Regions from separate parts of the Homo sapiens genome. Here region 1 is linked to region 2. The links are contacts of gene promoters, found by promoter capture Hi-C in human tissues and cell types (Jung and others, 2019). All regions are on one chromosome and are shown on one strand. Each heading gives the region's core, a stretch centred on a gene start or on the middle of the fragment in contact. The rest is flanking DNA. Distances are from core to core; before and after follow the strand shown.

What was found. Contacts are between HindIII fragments. The study calls those that stand out against the background at their distance.
Region 1: a contact is called between the fragment with the promoter of CA11 here and a fragment that was not itself captured in region 2, in 3 of the 25 tissues and cell types used here (IMR-90 fibroblasts, dorsolateral prefrontal cortex and lymphoblastoid cells).

The regions. Positions count from the first base shown.
Region 1 is chr19:48,644,315-48,648,658 of GRCh38, reverse strand. It overlaps CA11 (carbonic anhydrase 11), which reads left to right and starts at 2,472. Exons shown (of 9, transcript NM_001217.5): 1 at 2,472-3,093; 2 at 3,182-3,256; 3 at 4,090-4,232. The coding sequence starts at 3,027. It also overlaps the pseudogene SEC1P. RefSeq lists silencers at 1,854-2,263, 2,294-2,483 and enhancers at 2,441-3,141, 3,142-3,842, 3,843-4,344. The HindIII fragment of the contact is 19,792 bases long and covers 1-4,344 here.
Region 2 is chr19:48,726,899-48,731,324 of GRCh38, reverse strand. It overlaps RASIP1 (Ras interacting protein 1), which reads left to right. Exons shown (of 12, transcript NM_017805.3): 5 at 1,735-2,388; 6 at 3,895-3,932; 7 at 4,167-4,318. It overlaps LOC124904737 (a long non-coding RNA gene), which reads right to left and starts at 3,181. Exons shown (of 2, transcript XR_007067286.1): 1 at 2,957-3,181; 2 at 1-59. The HindIII fragment of the contact is 9,581 bases long and covers 1-4,426 here.

The DNA.
Region 1 (4,344 bases), core at 1,223-3,722, 82 kb after region 2:
CTCTTGATCTCAAGTGATCCTCCCTCCTCAGCCTCCCAAAGTGCTGGGATTACAGGCATGAACCACCAAGCCCCGCCAGCAATAAATTATTAGTATGTACCTTTCCTTCTTGTGTTTTTTCTTCGTGTCTCTCTCCACCCCTGACTCTCTGGGTTTCTTTCTGGGTGTCTCTCTCCATCTCTAGGTCTTTGAATGTCCATCCCAATTTGCTATCTCTGAATACCTCTGTCTTTCTGATTCCTTTGTAGTCTCTCCCATCATGTCAGTTGGTCTGCTTCTGGTCCTCTCTCCCTCTATCTGGGTCTCTCTATCTCTGTCCATCTGTTCCTCTCTGTTGATGTCTCTTTCTCTGCACGAGTGTCTCTATTTATAGATGTGTGTGTGCCTGTTCCCAGGTCTCTGTCTCTAGCTCTGTGTGTGTGTTTCTTTCTTTCTTTCTTTTTTTTTTTTTTTTTGAGATGGAGTCTCACTCTGTTGCCCAGGCTGGAGTGCACTGTTGGGATCTCGGCTCACTGTAGCCTCCACCTACCCGGTTCAAGCGATTCTCCTGTCTCAGCCTCCTGAGTAGCCGGGATTATAGGTGTGTGCCACCACGCTCAGCTAGTTTTTGTATTTTTTAGTAGAAACGGGGTTGCACCATTTTGGTCAGGCTGGTCTTGAACTCCTGACCTCAGGTGATCCACCCACCTCGACCACCCTAAGTGCTGGGATTACAGGCGTGAGCCACCATGCCTGGCTAAGTTTTTATGTATTTAGTAGAGATGGCATTTGGCCATGTTGGCCGGGCTGGTCTCAGTCTCCTGGCCTCAAGTGATCCATCCACCTTGACCTCCCAGAGTTCTGGGATTACAGGTGTGAGCCACCATGCTCAGTCTGTGTGTGTGTTTCTATGTCTCTCCCTCTCTGTGTCTCTCTCCACCTGTACTGATGTATGTGTGTCTCTTTCTATGTCTCTCTGTCTCGTTAATGTTTGGTGTCAGGCTGGACAAGGTGGCTCACACCTGTAATCCCAGCACTTTGGGAGGCCAAGGCAGGAGGATCCCTTGAGCCCAGGGGTTCCGGACCAGCCTGGGCATCATAGCAAGACTACATCTCTACAAAAAATAATTTTTAAAAATTAGCCTGGCATGGTGGCATGTGCCTGTAGTCCCAACTATTTGGGAGGCTGAGGTGGAAGGAGTGTTTAAGCCCAGGAGGTCGAGGCTGGATCAAGCCATGATCGCACCACTGCTCTCCAGCCTGGGTGACATTGCAAGGCTTGTCTCAAAAAAGAAAATAAAAGAAGACAATGAGCAGTTTCACTACCATTAGACGGGGTGAAAAATAATAAATAACAACAACAACAGTAATATGTGGTCTCTCTGAGGCTGGGTATGGTTGTTCATGCCTGTAATCTCAATGCTTTGGGAGGCCAAGGTGGGAGGATCCCTTGAGGACAGGAGTTTGAGACTAGCCTGAGCAACATAGCATGACCCCATCTCTTCTCCCCAAATACAAAAATGTGGTGTCTCTCTCTGTCTTTGGATCGCTCTTTCTCTCTTTTTGTCTCTCCCCACCCCATCTGCTGCTTGGTCTCTGAGTTTCTGTCTATCTCTAAGTGTGTGTCTCTATGTCTCCATGTCTGTCTCGCTGCGTCTCTGTATCTCCTTTTCTGCCTCTATCTGTATCTCTCTCATTCATTCCTTCCTCTCTCCCTCCCCCTCCTCCTCTCCCTCCTCCCCCTCCTCTCCCTCCCCCTCCTCTCCCTCCTCCCCCTCCTCCTTCACCTCCTCCCCCTCCTCCTCACTCCTGCCTGGCGGTTTGTTCTTGCCTCTCTAACCTTCTGTCCCTCCGCCCTTCCTCTCCGTATCCATCTCAGGCTCCCTTCCCCTCCCCAGCCTACGCAGATGTGGGTCCTCACCTCCCGCTCTCCGCCTCTGCCCTCCCGGCTCCTCCTCCCCGCCCCTCTCTCCCTCGCCAGGTCTCTGCCTCCCCCTCCAGGCGAGCAGCCCTCACTGCACTTCAGGCTCCTAGGGGATCCCCCGGCCCCGTTAAGGCAGCCCCAGGCAGAGACCCAGTGGAGCCCTGGGGCGGGGAAGGGGGGCTGCGGGCGCTGGGGCGGCTCCAACCTGGGTCCCAGCGAGCAGGGGGACCCTGCATCCGCCAAGGCCGGCGGCCCCCAGCATGGAGACTTCCGAAGCCACTCCCAGCTCCACCTTAAGCGCCCCCCCTTCCCCTTGCTGCGGAGGATGGAAACAGCCTGCTCCCGGCCCCAGGTGTCCCGGCCACCCCCGCCCGCGTGGCCCCAGCGCGGCTGGGAGCCGAGGACCAGCCCCCTACCTCCTTCCGAATCCTGCCCTTTCGCACATCCCACCCCAAGCCAACCCGAGGAGTGTTTGCCGCTATGAGATCACCTGCTCCCCCAGCCCAACAACAAAATTAAATAACACCACGGGAGAGGAGAGAGGGAGGGGGAGGAGGGAGGAAGGGACAAGAGAGAAGAGAGACTGAAACAGGGAGAAGAGGCAGGAGAGGAGGAGGTGGGGAGAGCACGAAGCTGGAGGCCGACACTGAGGGAGGGCGGGAGGAGGTGAAGAAGGAGAGAGGGGAGAAGAGGCAGGAGCTGGAAAGGAGAGAGGGAGGAGGAGGAGGAGATGCGGGATGGAGACCTGGAGTTAGGTGGCTTGGGAGAGCTTAATGAAAAGAGAACGGAGAGGAGGTGTGGGTTAGGAACCAAGAGGTAGCCCTGGGGGCAGCAGAAGGCTGAGAGGAGTAGGAAGATCAGGAGCTAGAGGGAGACTGGAGGGTTCCGGGAAAAGAGCAGAGGAAAGAGGAAAGACACAGAGAGACGGGAGAGAGAAGAAGAGTGGGTTTGAAGGGCGGATCTCAGTCCCTGGCTGCTTTGGCATTTGGGGAACTGGGACTCCCTGTGGGGAGGAGAGGAAAGCTGGAAGTCCTGGAGGGACAGGGTCCCAGAAGGAGGGGACAGAGGAGCTGAGAGAGGGGGGCAGGGCGTTGGGCAGGGGTCCCTCGGAGGCCTCCTGGGGATGGGGGCTGCAGCTCGTCTGAGCGCCCCTCGAGCGCTGGTACTCTGGGCTGCACTGGGGGCAGCAGGTAAGACCTGGGGTTCCCGGGAGGAGCCCCCGAGGGAGGGTGGAGGTGGGGATGCCAAGGAGAGGGATTCAGGCTGCTCTCTTCCCAGCTCACATCGGACCAGCACCTGACCCCGAGGACTGGTGGAGCTACAAGGATAATCTCCAGGGAAACTTCGTGCCAGGTGCCGCCAAGGCGGGGACCCAGGAGTCCGGCCCTCCCGGCGCCTCCTTCTTCAGACTCAGGAACCTGGGTTCCCAGCTCCCTCCTCCCCCCCAGGACCAGGAGTCCCAGCCCCCTCCTCTGTCCCTCAGGAGTCGGGCCAGCTTCTGAACCCCAGGGGCTCACCATGGGACATTATACATGCGCATTTCAAGTAGTGAGTGGGAGTGAGTGGAAGGAAAGTGTGGGGGTGGAGATTATGTGTGTGTTTGCCGGGAGAGGAAGGTCCTGGCTCCTGCTAGGAACCAGAGGCTGGGTGGCCCCGTCCCCCACCTTGTCCAGCCTTCTCTTGCAGCTCCTCTCCCCAACACATTAATAATAATCCAGCTGTGGGATAAGAGCGATTAAAAAAAAGAACTACAACTCCCACGGGGCTCTGGGGCAGGTAGGCAGCAGAGGGGTAGGCTGGTAGCACTGGGGCCTGCTGGGAGTTGTAGTTCCATCTACAGTGGCTTAAGATGGGTTTGATCGGCTGGGCGCGGTGGCTCACGCTTGAAATCCCAGCACTTTAGGAGGCCGAGGTGGGTGGATTACCTGTGGTCAGGAGTTCAAGACCAGCCTGGCCAACTTGGTGAAACCCGTCTCTGCTAAACTTGGAAACTATTCCAAGATTCTTCTAGGACCCAGAATTCTGGATCTGAGCCCAGTCCTCCCTCAGACCCAGGAGTCTAGGTCCCTAGCCCCTCCTCCCCTGGGATCTGGGAGTCCAGACCACAGCCCACTCAGCAGATACCAGCCCTGGGATCCAGTCTCTATTTCTGACTCCTTGTCCTCCTACTCCGACCCCACCCCCAGGGCCTCCTTTCTGGGGCCTGGTGAATGCAGCGTGGAGTCTGTGTGCTGTGGGGAAGCGGCAGAGCCCCGTGGATGTGGAGCTGAAGAGGGTTCTTTATGACCCCTTTCTGCCCCCATTAAGGCTCAGCACTGGAGGAGAGAAGGTAAGGGGCTTGGAGGGAGGAGCTATTGAACCCACTGGGGATGGGCATGAATAGAGGCTGGGGAATGGGGTGCTGAGGTAGGAGAGCAGCCTTGGGGGAGGAGGGGACACCC
Region 2 (4,426 bases), core at 1,507-4,006:
CATTGTAGGAATATTGAGAACATCCATTGATGGAAGGGGGATTATCTCTTTGAAATCCTCTGTTAGGGGGGTGGGAATAATAGGTGAGTCCATTGCAGGACTTAACTCCTGCAACCTCCACCTCCCAGGTTCAAGCGATTTTCCCGCCTCAGCCTCCCGAGTAGCTGGGATTATAGGCATGAGCCACCTCACCTGGCTAATTTTGTATTTTTAGTAGAGAGAGGGTTTCTCCACGTTGGTCAGGCTGGTCTCGAACTCCCTACCTCAGGTGATCTGCCGGCCTTGGTCTCCACTGCGCCCGGCCTCTTTTTTTTGAGTCTCACTCTGTTGCCCAGGCTGGAGTGCAGTAGCCTGATCTTGGCTCATTGCAACCTCTGCCTCCTGGGTTCAAGCGATTCTTGTGCCTCAGCCTCCCAAGTAGCTGGGACTACAGTCATGCGCCACCATGCCTGGCTAATTTTTGTATTTTTAGTAGAGACAGGTTTCACCGTGTCTGGTCTTGAACTCTTGACCTCAGGTGATTCACCTGCCTCGGCCTCCCAAAGTGCTGGGATTGCAGGTGTCAGCCACTATGCCCAGTCCAAGGGAATCTCTTTAAAAGTACCCATTCATTGCTTGAGGAATATTGAGAAAAACTATTATTGGAAGGGGAAATATATCTGGAAGCCTTTACCATGGTGGGGTGGGGGTGAAATAATGGACAGGTGGGACCAGGGATGGGGAAAAGGAGATTTCCTTGGAAAGGTCCATTCTTTGAGGGTGAGGGTAGTTGCACAGTTCATTTTAGAAATAGGGATCTCCTTGAAAGCATCTAATGCTTGAGGGAAAGAAATGGTAGAGCCCATGTTAAGAAATGGGTCTCTGGCTGGGTGTGGTGGCTCACACCTGTAATCCCAGCACTTTAGGAGGCCAAGGCAGGCGGATCACAAGGTCAAGAGATCGAGACCATCCTGGCCAACATGGTGACCCTGTCCCTACTAAAAATACAAAAATTAGCTGGGCGTGATGGTGCGCGCCTGTAGTCTCAACTACTCGGGAGGTTGAGGCAGGGGAATCGCTTGAACCCGGGAGGCGGAGGTTGGAGTGAGCCGAGATCGTGCCACTGCACTCCAGCCTGGCAACAGAGCGTGACTCTGTCTCAAAGAAAAAAAGGGGGGTCTCCTTGTACATAGCCGGTCTTCGGGATGGGTGTTATGGGACCATCCACCATACAAAGTGCCTGGGAAGAGTCCACTCAGTGGCGTTGCGGGTGCTTAGAGAGTCCTTTGAGATCCAGATCTCCTTGGAGTGTCTATTCAAAGTCGGTGGGGGGCCGGGCGCGATAGTTCACGCCTGTAATCCCAGCACTTCGGGAGGCCGAGGTAGGTGGATCACCTGAGATCAGGAGTTTAAGACCAGCCTGGCCAACATGGTGAAACCCTTTCCCTACTAAAAATACAAAAATTAGCCGGGTGTGGTGGCAGGCGCCTGTACTCCCAGCTACTCAACAGACTGAGGCAGGAGAATTGCTTGAACTCAGGAGGCAGAGGTTGCAGTGAGCCGAGATCGTGCCACTGGACTCCAGCCTGGAGGACAGAGCGAGACTCCATCTCAAAAAAAAAAAAAAAAAAAAAAAGAAGAAGAAGGAAAAAAAAAGTTGGTGGGAATAGAAAAGTTGTTGTAGAAAACAGAGAGAACAGATCTGAAGATATGGATTGAAGTGATGTCCTTAGTGCATCCTCGTTTCCCCTCCAGGACTTTGTGGTGTATGTGATGACGCGAGAGCAGCACGTGTTTGGGCGAGGTGGGAACTCGTCTGGCCGCGGGGGGTCCCCGGCTCCCTATGTGGACACCTTCCTCAACGCCCCGGACATCCTGCCGCGTCACTGCACAGTGCGCGCGGGCCCTGAGCACCCGGCCATGGTGCGCCCGTCCCGGGGCGCCCCAGTCACGCACAACGGGTGCCTCCTGCTGCGGGAGGCTGAGCTGCACCCGGGCGACCTCCTGGGGCTGGGCGAGCACTTCCTGTTCATGTACAAGGACCCCCGCACTGGGGGCTCGGGGCCTGCGAGGCCGCCGTGGCTGCCCGCGCGCCCCGGGGCCACGCCGCCAGGCCCTGGCTGGGCCTTCTCCTGTCGCCTGTGCGGCCGCGGCCTGCAGGAGCGCGGCGAGGCACTGGCCGCCTACCTGGACGGCCGTGAGCCAGTCCTGCGCTTCCGGCCGCGCGAGGAGGAGGCGCTGCTGGGCGAGATCGTGCGCGCCGCAGCCGCCGGCTCGGGAGACCTGCCGCCCCTCGGGCCCGCCACGCTGCTGGCGCTGTGCGTGCAGCATTCCGCCCGTGAGCTGGAGCTGGGCCACCTGCCACGACTGCTGGGCCGCCTGGCCCGGCTCATCAAGGAGGCCGTCTGGGTGAGCGCCCCCCAATCGCCGTCCAGCCCCACCAGCGCCCCAAGTCCCTTCTCCAGCCTCCCTTCCCTACCTTCAACCCTTTTCATAGCTGGGCTGGATACTACTGTTCCCATGACGCCTCGGGAAGGATTTGGGGTTTTGGGTTTTGTTTGTTTGTTTGTTTGCTTTTGTTTTTGAGACGGAGTCTCGCTCTGTTACCCAGGCTGGAGTGCAGTGGCGGTCTTGGTTCACTGCAACCTCTACCTCCGGGGTTCAAATGATTCTTCTGCCTCAGCCTCCCGAGTAGCTGGGATTGCAGGCGCCTGCCAGCACGCCCGGCTAATTTTTTGTATTTTTAGTAAGACGGGGTTTCACCATATTGGCCAGGCTTGTCTGGAACTCCTGACCTCGTGGTTCGCCCGCCTCGGCCTCCCAAAGTGCTGGGATTACAGGTGTGAGCCACCACACCCGGTGTTTTGGGGTTATTAAGCAAGGGGCCCCCCCATAGAATGCTGGGAGATGTAGATCCACTGCACTTAGAGGGAAGCCCAAACTCACCTTAGGAGAGCTCACCTAAGCACGAACTCACCTTAGGAAGAAACCATTATGGGAGATGGTGGGGGAGAGATCCCACTGGATGAGAAGTTGACAGAGATCAGTGTGAGAATTCACCGCAGCCCATTGGGCTTGGAGCTTGGATAGCAGTGAGCGAGTTCATTCTTGGAGGCGAGGAAGCACAAATCCACTGGACCTACAGATGGAAGTTCCAGAAAGAAACCATTCAGAGTGGGGGAAACGTTCCATCCTATTGAGCTAGGGCCTAACCAGAGAGGTTTAAGGAGTTTCTTGGGGGTAAAAATTGGAGAAGAGGACCTGAAGGAGCTAGATCACTCATAATCATAGGGTGTGTATGTTTTAAAAAGTAAGGAGAGACCATTCTAAAGCTTGTGGGATTAGAATTTGTCTCAAGAGCCAGGCGTGGTGGCTCATGCCTGTAATCCCGGCACTTTGGGAGGCCGAGGCGGGCAGATCACCTGAAGTCGGGAGATCGAGACCATCCTGGCTAACATGGTGAAACCCCGTCTCTACTAAAAATGCAAAAAATTAGCCGGGCATGGTAGCACATGCCTGTAATCCCAGCTACTTGGGAGGCTGAGGCAGGAGAATCACTTGAACCTGGGAGGCAGAGGTTGCAGTGAGCCAAAATTGAGCCATTGCACCCCAGCCTGGGCAACAACAGGGTAACTCCATCTCAAAAAAAAAAAAAAAAAAAAAGAATCCGTATGAAGAGTGAAGGCCGGTTGCAGTGGCTCATGCCTGTAATCCTAGTTCTTTGGGAGGCCAAGGTGGGAGGATCATTTGAGCTCAGGAGTTGGAGACCACCGGTGGCAACATAGTAAGACCCCATCTCTAAGAAAAGTAGGACCAGTCTCTATGAGAGTTGTGCTTCTATAAAAACCAGGGTATTAACTCTTAAGCCCCTCAGTGGATCCCCCTCACCTTGATTCTGATCTTACTGTTCCACAGGAAAAGATTAAGGAAATTGGAGACCGTCAGCCAGAAAAGTAAGAGAAATTCTGAGCAGAGTGGTCTGGAGGGATGCAGGGGTTGGGTTTTGCGTCTAGTTCTGTGTTCACCCCATGCATGCCCCAGTGCAAGTTTCTGCTTCTCCTTGCGCTCAACTTTTCCAGCTGCGCAATGGGAGTTGGTCTTGCTCTCCCACTTAGACTTAGATCTTGGGGTTTGTAAACTATGATGAGGGTTGGGCAGGGATCACAAATTCCTTCCTCTTTTTCAAGCCACCCTGAGGGGGTCCCCGAGGTGCCCCTGACTCCTGAAGCTGTGTCTGTGGAGCTGCGGCCACTCATGCTGTGGATGGCCAACACCACGGAGCTGCTTAGCTTTGTGCAGGAGAAGGTGCTGGAAATGGAGAAGGAGGCTGACCAAGAGGGTGAGCTCTGACTCAGGCTCAGGCTTGTCCAAGTCTCCCATCATGCCCTGCACCTGGGGACCTGGGCTCCTGGCTGCCGACTTCTGGTTCTCCCTCTTAACCCCAAGC